3 separate regions of the Homo sapiens genome follow, and all the other regions are linked to region 3. Evidence: promoter capture Hi-C in human tissues and cell types (Jung and others, 2019). All regions are on one chromosome and are shown on one strand. Each heading gives the region's core, a stretch centred on a gene start or on the middle of the fragment in contact. The rest is flanking DNA. Distances are from core to core; before and after follow the strand shown.

The links. Contacts are between HindIII fragments. The study calls those that stand out against the background at their distance.
Region 1: a fragment that was not itself captured here is called in contact with the fragment with the promoter of EEF1D in region 3 in 1 of the 25 tissues and cell types used here (dorsolateral prefrontal cortex).
Region 2: a fragment that was not itself captured here is called in contact with the fragment with the promoter of EEF1D in region 3 in 10 of the 25 tissues and cell types used here (IMR-90 fibroblasts, aorta, dorsolateral prefrontal cortex and 7 more).

The regions. Positions count from the first base shown.
Region 1 is chr8:143,829,353-143,832,534 of GRCh38, reverse strand. It overlaps LOC107986985 (a long non-coding RNA gene), which reads right to left. Exons shown (of 3, transcript XR_001746138.2): 1 at 3,131-3,182; 2 at 2,497-2,689; 3 at 604-1,826. It also overlaps a transcript of NRBP2 not described here. Among named protein-coding and RNA genes, the nearest start is that of PUF60, 1.6 kb to the right of the region's middle. RefSeq lists enhancers at 1,929-3,128, 2,449-3,148 and a silencer at 2,933-3,182. The HindIII fragment of the contact is 6,185 bases long and covers 1-3,182 here.
Region 2 is chr8:143,777,969-143,780,886 of GRCh38, reverse strand. All of the region lies in intron 7 of IQANK1 (IQ motif and ankyrin repeat containing 1), which reads right to left. Among named protein-coding and RNA genes, the nearest start is that of MIR937, 34 kb to the left of the region's middle. The HindIII fragment of the contact is 4,347 bases long and covers 1-2,918 here.
Region 3 is chr8:143,595,791-143,598,817 of GRCh38, reverse strand. EEF1D (eukaryotic translation elongation factor 1 delta) reads left to right here and starts at 1,403. Exons shown (of 10, transcript NM_001130053.5): 1 at 1,403-1,470. TIGD5 (tigger transposable element derived 5) reads right to left here and starts at 987. Exons shown (of 1, transcript NM_032862.5): 1 at 1-987. The coding sequence starts at 914. RefSeq lists an enhancer at 2,156-2,755. The HindIII fragment of the contact is 45,525 bases long and covers 1-3,027 here.

The DNA.
Region 1 (3,182 bases), core at 243-2,742, 230 kb before region 3:
GCAATCAGGTTTTATATGGAGACATTCCATTGCCCAGGGACGGGCAGGAGACAGATGCCTTCCTCTTGTCTCAACTGCAAGAGGCATTCCTTCCTCTTTTACTAATCCTCCTCAGCACAGACCCTTTACGGGTGTCGGGCTGGGGGACGGTCAGGTCTTTCCCATCCCACGAGGCCATATTTCAGACTATCACATGGGGAGAAACCTTGGACAATACCTGGCTTTCCTAGGCAGAGGTCCCTGCGGCCTTCCGCAGTTTTTGTGTCCCTGGGTACTTGAGATTAGGGAGTGGTGATGACTCTTAAGGAGCATGCTGCCTTCAAGCATCTGTTTAACAAAGCACATCTTGCACCGCCCTTAATCCATTCAACTCTGAGTTGACACAGCACATGTTTCAGAGAGCACGGGGTTGGGGGTAAGGTCATAGATTAACAGAGTCTCAAGGCAGAAGAATTTTCCTTAGTACAAAACAAAATGGAGTCTCCTATGTCTACTACTTTCTACACAGACACAGTAACAATCTGATCTCTCTTGCTTTTCCCCACAGTCTTTATGCTAACCTCACATATGCTTAACAGTGCGACTAGCTACAAAAAGCTTGGCTTGGTTGAAAATCATTTATTCCCAGGATTTCAAGGGTATTGTGTCATTTTCTTCTAGTTCCAAGAACTCTTGTGCCTTCCTGAATTCTGACTCTTTACCTATGATCTCTTCTTTTTCTTTGCCCCATTACTTGGGTAATTCTCAATGATGTGTCTTGATATACAACTTCCCTTTCACCCATTGTTCAGAAAACATGACTGTTTGGTTCTAGGAAATTTTCTTGATTTATCTCTGCTGATTTCTCTCATTTCCTTATTTTCTGGACAATTTATTTAGATGTTGGACTTCTGTTGAGTTTTTGTTGTTTTTTTGAGACAGGGTCTGGCTCTGTCACCCAGGCTGGAGTGCAGTGGTGTGATCACAGGGCACTGCAACCTCCACCTTCTGGGCTCCAGCAATCCTCCCACCTTAGCCTCTCTAGTAGCTAGGACTACAGGCGTGTGCCACCATGCCCAGCTGGTTTTTTAAAATTACTTTTTGTAGAGACGTGGCCTCACTATATTGCCCAAGCTGGTCTTGAACCCCTGGGCCCAAGTGATACTCCTGCCTCAGCCTCCTGAAGTGCTGGGAAGGCAGGCATGAGCCACTGTGCCTGACCTGGACTTCTCTTTTGAGATGCAGTCATGGTGGTGGCAAGAACACAGGCTCTGGAGCCATTCTACTGCTGCTCCCTGCCTTGTGATGTTGCCCATCAGTAAAAATGGGGTAACAGCTGTATCCATTGCATAGCACTGGGTTGTGAGGATCCCATGAATGAATGTGTGTAAGAACAGTCCTGGGCACCATGCATCCTGCGTGCACATTATTGCCAAGGGAAGCTGTCCCCAGAGGGTGGTGCCTGTGGCTTCCCCTGGTGGTGGTGGCAGACCAGCCCCCCACCTCCCATCCACCCCCTCCATTGTGGAGGCCTTGTGTGCCAGGCTAGCCCTAAGAGCACCCACCTGTGTTACTGCTATTCTGTTTTCCAGCTATCTGGTTCTGTCATTATACATTCTGGAAGACTTCATCTTAAAAGCCTATTGAATTGCTCACTTTCCCCTCATGTTTTATTTCTAAGAGCTCTTTCTCATCCCGAGGTTTCTTTCTCTATAGCCCCCAGTTCCTTTTTATTGACTGAGAATGGCATTTTAGTTTTCATTTTTCTTCGGCTTCCTTTATCGTCTCTGTTTCTTCTGAGTCCCTTTTCTTCTTTCTCAGGTGTCTGGTGATCCTGGGCTGTCCAGCTGCATTGAAGAGTGAGATGCTTTTAGTGGCTGGGGCTTATGACCTGGTGAGCTTCGAGGCCAGGGATCTGGCTGGGCCATTCTACTGGGCAACACTCTACCCCTAGGTGCCCTGCCAGTCTTTTCTTTTGAGCTAGGAGCTGCTGCAGAGAGGAGCCCTCTTCTCTGAGAAGCCTGATGGCATGCGGGTGGTCAGACCCAGCCCAGGGGTGGAGGCAGGGGTAGGACCCAGAGTCTCACTTACTCCCAGGCTTTCAGACAGGGCCTTGCTTGAGCAGGGCCTCAGAGCTCCTCTCCTGGAGCTCACGTCTCAGACACTGCAGTGCCTGCCAGCCCCGGTGGGTAGGGACAGAGGTCTGGGGTTTCCTTTCTGTAGCTGTGCTTTCACCCACGACCCTCAGACACTGGCCTCCATAGCCAAGTGGGCTGGAGTAGCTCTCGCTGTCCACCTTTCTTAAGCTCTGCAATATCCCAGCTCTTTGCCCTTGCAGGGTTTGTCTTTATAAAACCCCTTTCCTATAATTTTGGAAGGTTTCAGGAGGGAGGCGGGGAATATTCTGCCCTATTTAAGTAGAAGTGTCTGTATTAAATTCTAAATGTTCCCAGGGTTGAAAGGAGGCCTGCCCGGGATGCCTTGTGGCCTTAGGCAGCTGAAGGTGCCTGAGCTTACAGATGTGGCTTCTTCGGATGACCGAGTTGGGGTCTCGGGACTGGGTGCAGCAGATGGCAAATGTCCAGGACAGGCAGCTTTCCCAGCAGTACTGACAGACACCTTGGGCCATGAAAGCCAGTTCAGGGACTAACGGGGCCTGCGGGCTGCGGGTCTAGCGACTGATGTCAGCCAACCTAGGGTCATCGGTTCCCTGGAAGGAGAAAAAGCTGCCAATTGAACGGGGCCTCCCGGTCCCAGGGATGTCGCGACGCGGGGACGACGCATCTCACGACGTCAGCCTGAAACACGCGGGCCTTTCATCACCCGAGACTCCTCCAGCCCAGGAGGGCCCCGCTCTTTCGCCTGCCTCCTGGGGGAGAGCCTCTGGACGACGCACGCGACAGCGTTTTCTCCAAAAAAGGCAGAGAAGAGAAGCGTAGCAGTGGCCGCAAGGGCGACGGGCGGCGAAGGGTACTACGCACGCCCGCGTCGGCCACGCGGAGAGATACGCCCGACTCGAGTCCCGCGGCGCACGCCCCTAGACGCCCGAGGTGCGCGGGCCACGCCCCTCGCCCGGCCAAGAGCACGCCCCTTCCGTCGCCCCTCCCGGGGGCGTTTACCGTTCCTCCCCGCCCCGGAAGCGCGTTCTTACCTCCTTCCTCGCGAGAGTTCCGTGCACCGGCACCCAGATCGCGCGAGACAGC
Region 2 (2,918 bases), core at 69-2,568, 180 kb before region 3:
AGACCTAAAAGCAGAACTACCATTGGACCCAGCAATCCCATTACTGGGTATATACCCAGAGGAATATAAAGCAGTGTACCATAAAGACACATGCACGCATATGTTGACTGCAGCACTATTCACAATAGCAAAGACATGGACTCAACCTAAATGCCCATCAGTGACAGACAAGATAAAGAAAATGTGGTACATGCACACCGTGGAATACTATGCAGCCATAAAAAAAGAATGAGATCATGTCCTTTGCAGGAACATGGATGGAGCTGGAGGCCATTATCCTCAGCAAACTATCGCAGGAACAGAAAACCAAACACCACATGTTCTCACCTGTAAACGGGAGCTAAAGGATGAGAACTTAGGAACACAAAGAAGGAAACAACAGATACTAGGATCTACTTGAGGGTGGAGGGTGGGAGGAGGGAGGGGAGCAGAAAACTATTGGGTACTGGGCTTAGTTCCTGGTGAGGAAATAATCTGTACGACAAATCCCCATGACTATGTCACCTGCATAACAAACCTTCACATGTACCCCCAAACCTAAAAGAAAAGTTAAAAAAAGATGACTTAACATCTCTGTGCTTAAGTTTCTTTGTATATAATAAAGTCTTTGTATATAATGTAGGAATATTAATAATACTACAATCAGGTTTGTTGAGAGGATTAAACTGGGAACTTTATACATATTTCAGGAAAGTTTTGTAACTTGAAAAAAAGAAGGAAGCAAGCACTATAAAATTCAGGATATGATGATCTGGGGAGAGGTGTGGTGTTCTGGCGATACTTTATTTCTTGAGTCAGGTAGTTACTACATGAGTATTTCCTTTGTGGTAAATAATTGAGCCACAACTTTGATTTCTGCAATATTCTGTATGTCATTTGTAATTAAAAAGGAAAGTCTGAAGATGTATAAAATCAAGGAGTAGCTAAAATGAGAGAAGGGATGAATGGATAACTAGATAAATAGGATGGAAGAGTGAACAGACATACGAATGAGGCAATGATTTTGTAACTTAAAAGAAATTGTGATACTCATTTAAAATAATAATAGCTACCATTTCTTGAGAACTGACTTTGCACCAGGAATTGTGCCAAGGAATTTCATTCACTATCTCATGAATCTTCAAAAAGCTGTTATTAGTCCCATTTCTGAATATATGGAAACAGATTCAAATAAGCTTCAGAACTTGCCAAAGTTCTGTCTGTAAGTGGAAGAACTGGAGTAGACGGAAAATGAATGAAGACAGAAAATAAAAGGATAATATAACGAGTAAACTTACGAGTGTCTTAATGAATAGGCAATAAATGATGAATGAATGAGTAAATTAATGAATTAAACTATAAGAGAATGAAGATTAGATTAATTGAATGAACTGATTAAATGATGAACTGATACATGAAAAATTAATAGATGAATGAGTGTAAAGAATGGATACGTGAGATAAGCAAATGGTTAGTTGAGCAACTGGATGGATGAATTGATGGATGAATTCATCGTTCAACAAAATGTTTCAGTGCCTATCGTGGTCAACCAATACTGGGGCATACGATTAAGGGGTGAACGAGACACAGTCCTTCTTTGCTTTCTCATAATTTTCTGTCAAGTAAACAGCATGAATGCGTGTATGAATGGATGAATGGATGTCTGAATGAATAGTAGATAAAAAATAAGTGAATAATTATTTAAACATGGTGTAAGGGTGGAATGGGCACATTAATGAGTGGATAGCTTATAAGTTTATAAATTTATATATGTTTATAAGTTCATAAATTTATATATAAGCTTATAAATTTATTTATAAGTTTATAAATAAATGACTCATGGCTGGGCATGGTGGCTCACACCTGTAATCCCAGCACTTTGGGAGGCCGAGGCAGGCAGCCCACCTGAGGTCAGGAGTTCGAAACCAGCTGGCCAACATGGCAAAACCCCATCTCTACTTAACATACAAAAGAACAAATTAGCTGGGCGTGGTGGCGCATGCCTGTAGTCCCAGCTACTCTGGAGGCTGAGGCAGGAGAACCGCATAAACCCGGGAGGCAGAGGTTGCAGTGAGATTGCGCCACTGCCCTCCAGCCTGGGTGACAGAGCAAGACTCCATCTCTAAATAAATAAATAAATGACTCAAGTTAATAAGATAATTATGAATTGGCGAAAGCGCAAACCAATACTGGGGCGAGATGGATGAAGTGGGTGAATGTATGGAAACGATGACTGATGAATGATGAAGGGATGGTGATGGACAGCGTGGTTCAGCTCTTCGGTATCATCGCTGATATTCCGTCTACTTGTCTCATCAATTATGGGGAGAGAGAGATGGCAAAATCGCCTATTACCATTGTGGATCTCTTTATTTCTCCTTGTAGTTCTCATAGTTTTTGCTTCATGCATTTTGAAACCCTGTTAGTAGCTGCATGAACATTTAGGATTTTTATGTCCTCATGATGAATTCCTACATTTGTCATTACTAAATGATTCTTTTATCCTTAGTAACATACTTTTTTCTGAAATCTACTTGATGTTAATACAGTTACTTCAGCATCCTGTTTAGTGTTATCTTGGCATATTTGTTTTTATCATTTTAATTTTCAACTATTTGTGCTTTTACATTTAAAGCTTGTTTCTTATAGGTAGAACATAGTTAGCTACAATTTTTAATCCAAAATGACAATCCATCTTTTTTTTTTTTGTTTTGAGACGGAGTCTTACTCTGTCACCCAGGCTGGAGTGCAGTGGTGCGATCTTGGCTCACTGCAAGCTCCGCCTCCTGGGTTCACGCCATTCTCCTGCCTCAGCCTCCCAAGTAGCTGGGACTACAGGCGCCCGCTACGATGCCCGGCTAATTTTTTTGTATTTTTAGTAGAGACGGGGTTTCACCATGTTAGCCAGGATGGTCTCGATCTTCTGACCTCGTGATCCG
Region 3 (3,027 bases), core at 154-2,653:
TGGCGCAGGCTGGGCGGGTCCGGCAGCCGCCCGATGACCAGCGGCTTCAGCTTGTGGCTGCCGGTCAGGTTTGCGGCCAGCAGCACCGTTACGCGGTCGCCCCGCCAGCGCCGGCCACAGCCCCCCGCCCCGGGGTCCCCTGCGCCCGGGGGCGCAGCCTGCTCCGGAAGCAGCTTCCAGTAGAGGCCGGTGACGCTGGCGCTGTAAATCTGCTCGTCCCCGTAGCCGCCCTCGGCCGGGGGCGGCGGGGCCGGGGCGCGGTCGGGCAGGGGGCCGGCGCCGGAGGGCAGCGCGGGCTCCTCCTTGACGGGCGGGCCGGGCGCGGGGCTCGGGGCTGGGGGCCCGGCCTCGCCGTAGAAGCGCTGGCTGGAGATGCCGTGGCGCTTCTGCCAGCGCCAGAACCAGCCGTGGCTGGCCTTGAAGGTGCACTCGGGCCCGTAGATCTGGCGCGCGAAGGCCTCGGCCTGCGCCTGGATGAGCGGGCCAGACAGCGGCACCCCGTGCTGGCGCAGCGCCAGGAACCAGGCGTACACGGCGCGGTCGATCTCCTCCTCGTTGGCCAGCCGCATCTTCTTGCGCTGAGTGCCCACCTCACCGCCCAGCTGCTCCAGGAACCAGCGCAGCTTGGGCTCGTCCTTGAGCCAGCCGCGCAGCGTCCCGCCCGGCACGCCGAAGTCGCGGCACACACTGGCCTGCCGCTCGCCGCCCTTGACGCGCTCGATGGCCTGCAGCTTGTCCTTGATGGAGTAGGCCTTGCGGAAGGCCATCTTCACGGCCACGCGGGGCCGCGGCCCGGGCGCGGGGGGCGGCGGCCGTGCAGCGGGGACGGGGGCTGGGGCGGGCGCGGGGGGCCCGGGCAGGGGACGGCGGCCGCGGCGCGGTACCGGGCCGGCCGGGGGGCCCGCGGGGTACATGGCTGCGGCGGGGGGGACCCGGGCCGCGCGGGTCGCGGGAGCCACACGCCCAGCCGCTCGGGGCGGGGCACTCGGGGGCGGGGCCGCACGGGTCCCTCCCCTTTGTCCCGCAGCTTGGCGGGCGCACGCGCGCTGACCTAGCCCGGCCCGGCCCCGCCCCGCGCCTGCGCGCTGGCCGCCTCGTGCGTCACTCGGCGCTTGCCGGCTGCCGGACCCGCCCCCACCGGCGACACCACTGGCCGCGAAGCGCAGGGGGGGCGCGCGCGCTGCCGCCCGTTCCCAGCACTTGTGCAGACTCCTCCGGGGAAGAGCGGCCTCCGCGGTCATCTCCAACGGAATTCTGCCTTTGAAGTGTCGGGGCACGGCGCGTCGAGGGTCCTGGCGGCCAGGCGGGGCGTGTGCAAGGGTCGCGTCCCCCCCCCGGGCCCCCGGCCCGTGGCTCTTGGTAGAGCCCAGTGCTTCATTTCCCGTGCGCGGCCCGGGCGGCCCTCCCTTTCATCAGTCTTCCCGCGTCCGCCGATTCCTCCTCCTTGGTCGCCGCGTCCTTGGCTGGCGTGTGAGTACCGCGGCCCCCGCCGGAAGGAGTCGGGCGCGACAGAGACGCCCGAGGGGCCGGGAGGGCGGGCGGCCCGGGCTGCGCCAGAAGCTCGCGCCGTTAGGGACTGAGGCACAAGTGCGCCAGCGCGGGCTTAGGGGCCGTGGGCCAAGTGCGGCACTTGGGGCGAGCGCAGAGAGGCGGGGCGACGGAGGCCACGTGGCCGGCTTGGAGGGCGTCCGCGGGACGGGGGCGCCGGGAGCACTGTCTCACGGCGCATCCCGGTCGTGGAAGCCCCTCGGCCAGGCTGCTGGGGCCTAAGGCCTGTGTTTGCTGCCGTCTCCGTGGGAGACCAGACATCTGCCCCAGCTGTTTCTCTGGCCTGCAGACCTTCGTACACCACGTCTTTGTCAAGCACCAGTTACTGCACGCATCAGCTGAGCACGGAGGGGATAGGCACGGACGCAACACTTTTGGAACTTAGACGCTAGTGAGCACGGAAAGGAATAAGCCTGTACTGTGACTGGGTCAAAATTTCTGTCTCTTGATTTGGATAGGGTGGTCGGGCAGTCTCTGAAGGGGGCGGGGATGCTGTTGCTAAGAAGTAGTACTTTCAGAGGCTTTAAGTGGAAGGAAGAAGGCAAAGGGGGCGGAGTGGGTTGGGGACCTGATGAGACGTCAGGATTGGTTTCCAGAATGAAGGACCGCCTGGCAGCAGAAGAACTGTGTAGCTAAACTTGGGGTTGTCCCTGCCCGACAGGGCGGGGTGCTTCTTAAGTTGACACTGCCTGCGGCTCACCTCCCAGGGAGGCAGGCCAGGCCATCTCACCTGAGCAGCCTCCTTCTACAGCTCCGCCCACCCCGTCATCTGGACCCCATGAGCCTTAAGCAGCTGGCTCGCAGGCAGTTGGTTACTTCCGGAGCCCGTGTGTGCCCAGCCCCGTTCTGGGGGTGGGGGATGCAGCTGAGGGGCTGGGCAGGTGTGGAAGGAGCCCCCGAGCGTCCTCTGAGGAAGTAGACGCTCACCTTCGCCTTCTCACCACATGCCTCAGGCCCAGCCAGGCTCCTAGACCTGCCTCTGTAGAGGCTTTCTGGGCGCAGTGCCAATCCTGTGAGACAGCAGCATCTCCCCTGGGCTGCTGCAGGGTTCACACGCAGTCAGTGCTGGCAGAGTGAGCGCCCAGCCGACAGAGCCCCCGCTGCCTCCCGCCTCCTCTGGAGGACTAGGCCCTCTGGGCTTTGCTCCCGGGTTGCTGGGTGAGGCTGCAAGGTTTAGCACAGGTGGGCACACGTGCTTGATGATGGACAAAGAGTACCTGGGCTGTGCCGTGCACTGGCGTCAGCCTTCTGGGGGCTGAGGACAGGAAATGTGGCATTGAGGATTTGTGGGTCATCATCCTGTGCCAGTGTGTTAAGGTGACATCAGCGTGTTGGAAGCTGGTGGCAGTGAGTTATGCTAAGTGCTGGTGTAGGAGCCTGCCACAGGTCTCCAGCTCTCCCACCTCGCTGACAGCCAAGGGTGCCGTGTGAGGTGTGGCGTGGGTATTGTCTGGGGTTCCAGAAAGCCTGTGCCGTGCT